Regions from separate parts of the Homo sapiens genome. Here region 1 is linked to region 2. The links are contacts of gene promoters, found by promoter capture Hi-C in blood cells and fetal thymus (Javierre and others, 2016). All regions are on one chromosome and are shown on one strand. The core of a region is centred on a gene start or on the middle of the fragment in contact, and the rest is flanking DNA. Distances in the headings are between cores, read along the strand shown.

Region 1 (3,927 bases), core at 1,427-3,926, 310 kb after region 2:
ATTGTGTTTTTATAAATTGAAGAATTGTGGCAACACTGCATAGAGCAACTCCACCATTTTTTTCTAACACCATGTCCTCACTTCATGTCTCTATGTCACATTTTGGTAATTCTCACAATATTTCAAACTTTTTCACGATGATTGTATCTGTTACGGTGATTTGTGATCAGTAATCTCTGGTGTTACTATTTTAATTGTTTTGGGGTACGAATGTGCCCATATGACAGTGAACTTGATCCATAAATATTATATGTGTTCTGAATGCTCCACTTACCAGCTGTTCCCTTATCTCTATACTTCTCTCCTTGGGCCTCCCTATTCCCTGAGACACAGAATATTGAAATTAGGCCAATTAATGACCCTACAATGGCTTCTGTGTGTTCAAGTGAAAGGAAGTGTTGCACATATCTCATTTTAAATCAAAGGCTAGAAATGATCCCCACAAGCACAAGTAACTAAAGCAAAAATGGACAAATGGGTCACATTAAGTTAAAAAGCTTCTGCCCAGTGAAAGAAACAACAACATGAAAAGACAACCCACAGAATGGATGAAAATACTTGCAAACTATCCACATGACAAGGGATCAATAACCAAAATATATAAGGAGCTCAAATAACTCTATAGGAACAAAATCTAATAATCTAATTTAAAAATGGGCAAAAGATCTGATGAATAGACATTTTTCAAAAGAGGACATACAAATGAGAAGCAGGTGTATGAAAAGGTGCTCAACATCACTGATCATCAGATAAATGCAAGTCAAAACTATAATGAAGCATCATCTCACCCCAGTTAAAATGGTATTTATCCAAAAGACAGACAATAACAAGTGCTGGTGAGGATGTGGAAAAAGGAGAACCCTCATACACTGTTGGTGGGAACGTAAATTAGAACAATTCAGAGGTTCCTAAAAAAACTAAAAATAGAGCTACCATATGATCCAGCAATCCCACTGCCAGGTATATACACAAAAAAATGGAAATCAGTATATTGAAGACATATCTGCATTCCCATGTTTATTGAAGCACTATTCACAATAGCCAAGATTTAGAAACAACCTAGTGTCCATCAACGATGAATTGATAAAGAAAACGTGGTTGATTTATACAATGGAGTACTATTCAGTCATAAGAATGAACGAGATCCTGTCATTTGCAATGACGTAGATGGAACTGGCAGTCAGTGCATTAAGTGAAATAGGCCAGGAACAGAAAGACAAACTTGGCATCTTCTCACTTATTTGTGGGAGCTAAAAATTAAAAGAATTGAACTCATGGAGATAGAGAGTCAAAGGATGGTTACCAGAGGCTGGGAAGGGTAATTGGGAGAGGGGTAGGGGAGTGAGGATGGTTAATGGGTCCAAAAAAATAGAAAGAATGAGTAACACCTGATATTTGACAGCATAACAGGGTGATGACAGTCAATAATAATTTAATTGTACATTTAAAAGCAACAAAGAGTACAATTGGATTGTTTGTAACACAAAGGAAAAATGCTTGAGGTGATGGATACCTGGTTTATCCTGATGTGATTATTACACATTGTATGCTAGTATCAAAATATCTTATGCAGCCCATAAATATACATAACTACTATGTCTCCACAAAAATTAAAAGTTAAAATTAAAAAAAGAGAAATGATTAAGCTTAGTGAGGGAGGCATGTTGAAAGCCAAGAAAGGTCAAAAGCTAGGCATCTTGCACCAAACAGCCAAGTGGTGAATGCAAAGAAAAACTTCTTGAAGGAAATTAAAAGTGCTAATTCAGAACACATGAATGATAAGAAAACAAAAGAGCCTTATTGCTGATACAGAGAAAGTTTGAGTGGTCTGGATAGAAGATCAAACCAGCTGCAACATTCCCATAAACCGAAACCGAATCCAGAGCAAGCCCCTAACTCTCTTCAATTCTATGAAGACAGAGAGGTGAAGAAGCTGCAGAAGAAAAGTTTGAAGTTATCAGAGGTTGGTTTATGAGGGTTAAGGAAAGAAGCCATCTCTATAGCATAAAAATGCAAAGTGAAGCAGCAAGTGCTGATGGAGAAGCTGCAGCAAGTTCTCCAGAAGATCTAGCTAAGATCACTGATGAAGGTGGCTACACTAAAAAACAGATCTTCAATGTAGACAAAACAGCCTTCTATTGGGAGATGATGCCATTAAGGACTTTCGCAGATAGAGAGAAGTCAATGCTTGGCTTCAAAGCTTCAAATGATAGGCTGACTCTCTTGTTAGTAGCTAAGGTAGTTGGTGACTTTAAGTTGAAGCCAATGCATATTTCCCATTTCTCAAGTCTTAGAGCCCTTTAGAATTATGTTACATCTCTTTGGCCTGTGCTCCATAAATGTAACAACAAAGCCTGGATGACAGCACATCTGCTTATAGCAAGGTTTACTGATTATTTTAAGCCCACTGTTGAGAACTGTGCTCAGAATAAAAAAGATTCCTTTCAAAATATTACTGCTCATCGACAAAACACCAGGTCACTCAGAAACTCTGATGAAGATGTACAAGGAGACAAATGTTGTTCCTATCCCTGCTAACACAGTATCCATTCTGTAGCCCATGGATCAAAGAGTAACTTTGACTTTCAAGTCTTATTATTTAAGAAATACATTTTGTAAGGCTATAGCTGCCATAAATAGTAATTCCTCTGATAGGTCTGGGAAAAATACATTGAAAACCTCCTAGAAAGAACTTACTATTCTAGATTACATCAAGAATGCTTGTGATTCAGGAGAAGAGGTCAAAATATCAACATTAATAATAATTTAGAAGAAGTTGATTCCAACTTTTATGGATAACTTTGAGAGACTCAAGGCTTCGGTGGAGGAAGTAACTGCAGATGTGATAGAAATAGCAAGACAACTAGAATTAGAAGTGGAGCCTGAAGGTGTGCCTGAACTGCTGCAATCTCATGAGAAGACTTTAATGAGTGTGGAGTTACTTTTTATGAATGCTCAAAGAGAGCAATTTATTGAGATGGCAACTACTTCTGGGGAAGAGTCTATCAACATCGTTAAAATGACGACAAAGGATTTAGAATATTACATAAATTTAGTTGATAAAGCAACTGCAGGGTTTGAGAGGATTGACTCCAATTTTGAACGTTCTACTGTGGGATAAATGCTATCAAACAGCATCACATGCTACAAAGAAAGCTTTCATGAAAGGAAGAGTTGATTGATGCAGCCAACTTCATTGTTGTTTTATTTTAAGAAATTGCCACAGTCACCCCGAACTTCAGCAAACTACCACTCACATCAGTCAGTAGCCATCAACACTGAGGTAAGACCCTCCCACCAGCAAAAAGATTACGACTCACTGAAAGCTCAGATGATCATCAATATTTTTTAGCAATAAAGTATTTTAAAATTAAGGTATGTACATTTATAGACATAATGCTATTGCCCACTTAATTGATGACAGTATAGAGGAAACATAACTTTTATATGCACTGGGAAACCAAAAAATTCATATGACTCACTTAATTGCAATATTAGCTTTATTGTAGTGGTCTGATACTGAAGTTGCATTATCTCTGAGATATGCCTGTATATCTTCCTTTGAATGCTTCTTCGGTCATAGTTCACAGATTTTTTATTTTTTGTGCCCTCATTGTTATTCATTAGAAATAATTTATAATTTCTACTTTAATTTTTCTTTTGAACCCAATAGATAGTTAAAAGAGTAGGTTTTGAATATTCATGTCTATAGGGGTTTTGTTGGTAATGAGGTTTTTGTTTGTTTGGCTATTCTTTGGCGATTTCTAGTTTTATTGCATTGTGGTCTGTGAACACATTTCTGCCATTTAGAATATAGTGGAATTTCCTCTGAGAATTCTGCGGGGATGGTTGTTGAATACATCTGTGCTGCCTTCATCCTTCAATTTAAAACCAGCTACTGAACCTTTTGTGAGCCAAGCAGCTTCT
Region 2 (3,637 bases), core at 1,036-3,535:
CAGGAAAGTGTCCCAGTCGATCAGATCTGGAGTTTATCAAGAGAATCGCAGCAGTGTAAAGAGTTGCCTGGCACATAGTAGGTGCTCAATAAATCCTGTGGAATGAGAGAGGCTGTTGGGACAGTCCAGATGAAAGATGGCACCCTCTGAATTAGGGCAGTGGCAGAGGTGACAGAAAATAAGGGATGGATCCTAGAGGCAGAATCCACAAGACTTGCAAATGTGCCCTTAACAGCAGAAGCCATGAGAATGGGGTTAGAAGTGTCCTCCTCTTCCATCCTCCCTGATCTGTGAGGTCTGGCCTCTTGTCCTCTTCCAGAAATTGAGAGCTTGGAGGGTCATCACCTCAACCGTTGTCTAGTTCAAGCTCCTAAGTTTTCCTTGGAGAAAAATTTAGGCCTAAGGGAACACAGTCCTTCAGAGGCAGAGGCTGCACCAGAACCCAGGTGTTCCATGCTGCAAAGCAGAGTGTTAACACTGGTTCAAGAACATCTTGAGGGCCAGGTGCGGTGGCTCATGCCTGTAATCTCAGCACTTTGGGAGGCCAAGGCAGGCGGATCACCTGAGGTCAGGAGTTTGAGACCAGCCTGGCCAACGTGGAGAAACCCCGTCTCTACTAAAAATACAAAAATTAGCTGGGCGTGGTGGCGCCAGCCTGTAATCCCAGCTACTCGGGAGGCTGAGGCAGGAGAATTGCTTGAACCCAGGAGGCAGAGGTTGCAGTGAGCCGAGATCATGCCACTGCACTCCAGCCTGGGCAACAGAATGAGACTCTGTCAAAAAAAACCCAAAAACCAAAAACCAAACAAACACCCAAAAAACAAAACGAAACAAAAAACAAAAAAACAAAAGCACGTCTTCAGAGTTCATGAACCCAGGAAATGTAGGCACAAGTGTGTGTGTTTCTGCAAAATGAGAGGGTCCCGAGTTTCCTAACATACTTAAAGTGTTTTATGATGCCACAAAAGGCTGGCCCACTCTTTTTTTTTTTTTGAGATGGAGTTTTGCACTGTCGCCCAGGCTGAAGTGCAGTGATGTAATCATTGCAATCATGGCTCACTGCAACCTTGACTTCTTGAGCTCAAGCGATCCTCCTGCCTCAGCCTCCTGAGTAGCTGGGACTACAGGTGTTTGCCACCATGCCTGGCTAACTTAAAAATTTCTTTATTTTGTAGAGATGGGGGTCTTGCCATGTTGCCAGGCTGGTCTTGAACTCCTGGCCTCAAGCAATCTCCCTTTTTGGCCTTCCAAAGTGTTAGATTACAGGCGTAAGCCACCGCGCCTGGCCCCCACCTTTATTTTTATTTTTATTTATTATTTATTTTTTTTTTTTTTGAGACTGAGTCTTGCTCTGCCTTCGAGGCTGGAGTGCAGTGGCACGATCTCGGCTCATTGCAATCTCTGCCTCTGCGGTTCAAGCGATTCTCCTGCCTCAGCCTCCCGAGTAGCTGGGATTACAGGCGAACGCCACTACATCCGGTTAATTTTTGTATTTTTAGTAGAGACGGAGTTTCACTATGTTGGCCAGGTTGGTCTCGAACTCCTGACCTCAAGTGATCTGCCCGCCTCGGCCTCCTAAAGTGCTGGATTACAGGCGTGAGCCACCGCGCCCGGCCCCACTCTTAATAAATGCCTGTCTCCAGGTGCTGGGTGGGAGGTGGGATGGAATGGAATGAGGTGAGGACGCATGGATGCATGGATGAATGGATGGGAAGTTGAGACGACGCGCCCACACGAGGGAATTTCCTTTGAAAGAGAGCGAAATTCTGAGTTGGGAAACTCTTCCTTGAAACGCCTCCCCATACCCCAGCTGTGGCCTTCCCGTTTTCTGCGTGGTGGTGTGGGGGGAACTTCCTCAGGCCTCTCCGCAGTGGAGCCTCTTTCGGTTCTGCCAGGATACCTAGAGGCAGCGGAGAGCGGGGCAGGGAGGGGAAAACCGTGAGGGTCCCTGTGGCAGGCCCCAGCACCCATGGGATCTCTCTCCGGTCGCAGGAAGCAGGCTAGCTCCTAGCCCGCCTCGGCTTGGCCTTTGTGGGACCTGGGGGCAAAGAAGAAGAGCTGTCTCTGGGACCATGCCTCCTCCCGTACACAGCAAGATGCGTCCCTAAACTCCCGGGGGAATTAGACTTGTGGGAATGTTCTGGGGAAACTCCTGCGCGGTGAATTGCTGGGGGCTCCGCCCCCCCGATAGGTGGACCGCGATTGGTCTTTGAAGACCCCGCCCCTTTCCTGGGCGGGGCCAAGGCTGGGGCAGGGGAGTCAGCAGAGGCCTCGCTCGGGCGCCCAGTGGTCCTGCCGCCTGGTCTCACCTCGCTATGGTTCGTCTGCCTCTGCAGTGCGTCCTCTGGGGCTGCTTGCTGACCGCTGTGAGTTGTTTTTGCCCCGACCAGACGGGAGTTGGGAGTGGGGAATGAGAAGGAAAGGGAAGGAAGACTTCGGGGAAGAGGCCTTCCTGGCTGATTTTTGTGGGGGCAGGAGGGTGGGTGGGAGCTGGGCAAGGTGCCCCCGCTCCTGGCTGAATGGGGTGGGCTGCCTCTCTCTTCTCCCGGGCTGGGGTCCCGGGAGCGGCCTACAGGGGCCGCTCAGGGAAGGCACTGGCTGCCCAAGCGTGCCTAGACGGCCTGGACGGGTTTAGGGAGCCTCAGAGGCTGGCCACACAGAGACTGGTAGGGGGTTCAGAGGGCGGGAAGTGAGGCGGACCAAGGGAAGGGGCGGGTCTGGCCCGTTTCCTGTCCCCTTCTTATTGTGGACAGATGCCAGCCTCTGTAAGTAGTTATCATCTCCTTGCCAGCTGGGGCTGCCTTCTTCCAGGGCATCTTGTGGGAACAAGAGATGGGTGCAGAGGCCCAGGTACTTTTGTGAGAAGGCAAGGAGCTTTTAACATCGCCTTCCACCCCGAACCGTATCTTGGGTGTTCCAACCTAGGAGGAATCCCCAGGGCTTTGCCTTTTTCTCCTGAATTTAAGATGACATAGGAGACCCCTGGGGAGATGAACAGTTTATGGGACACAATAAAGGGTTAGGAGACCAGAGTTCTGGTTGGCTCTGACAGGGCTGGTGATCAGAGGGCTGGAGAAACCAGGGGTTTCTCCAGGCACCAGAGGGGCTCAGAGCCAACCAAGCATATCTCCGGGATTTTCAGAAGCCTACACTTGACTCACTTTTTGTTTAAATGTATTTTTGTAGTTCCTCATTCTGGAGGCTGGGAATCCCCCAAGTACCTGGCTCCTTCATCCCAGCCCCTCTGGCCTCCCCCTACTTTAGAGGGCTGTAGATTCCTGCCTGAAGCCTGGGCAGGAATGACCCATGGTATCAAGGAAAGCAAGGGAAGCAGCAAGGGAAGAGAGGGAGTGGGGAGGCTGCTTTGGTCCCACAGCTTTCACTTTCACCTGAAGCAATGGCTCTTAGGGAACAGGGAGGCAGGGGGAGGGCGGAGCTGGAAAGAGGTAAAGGGGGGCCCTTGTGGTAGGAGTGGAGAAAGAGCCAGAGGAGGTGGGGTGAAGGGTGTGATCCAGGCTTCTCAAGAGCAGAGTTTGCCCTCATAACTCCCAACTTTGGCTCCAGGTAGAGGCTGGGCTGTGACAACAATGTCAGAAGCTATCTATTGAGGGCTTCTTGTGTGTCAGGCTCTGAGCCA

The links. Contacts are between HindIII fragments. The CHiCAGO score rates a contact against its expected background, and 5 or more counts as called.
Region 1: a contact is called between a fragment that was not itself captured here and the fragment with the promoter of CD40 in region 2, in 1 of 17 cell types (endothelial precursors). The highest score is 5.2, in endothelial precursors.

Annotation. Positions count from the first base shown.
Region 1 is chr20:46,426,910-46,430,836 of GRCh38, forward strand. All of the region lies in intron 2 of LOC105372633 (a long non-coding RNA gene), which reads left to right. Among named protein-coding and RNA genes, the nearest start is that of ELMO2, 22 kb to the left of the region's middle. The HindIII fragment of the contact is 956 bases long and covers 2,199-3,154 here.
Region 2 is chr20:46,116,029-46,119,665 of GRCh38, forward strand. It overlaps CD40 (CD40 molecule), which reads left to right and starts at 2,286. Exons shown (of 9, transcript NM_001250.6): 1 at 2,286-2,366. The coding sequence starts at 2,316. RefSeq lists a cis regulatory region at 1,468-3,565, enhancers at 1,507-2,323, 2,089-2,148, 3,159-3,508 and a silencer at 2,065-2,284. The HindIII fragment of the contact is 10,977 bases long and covers 1-3,637 here.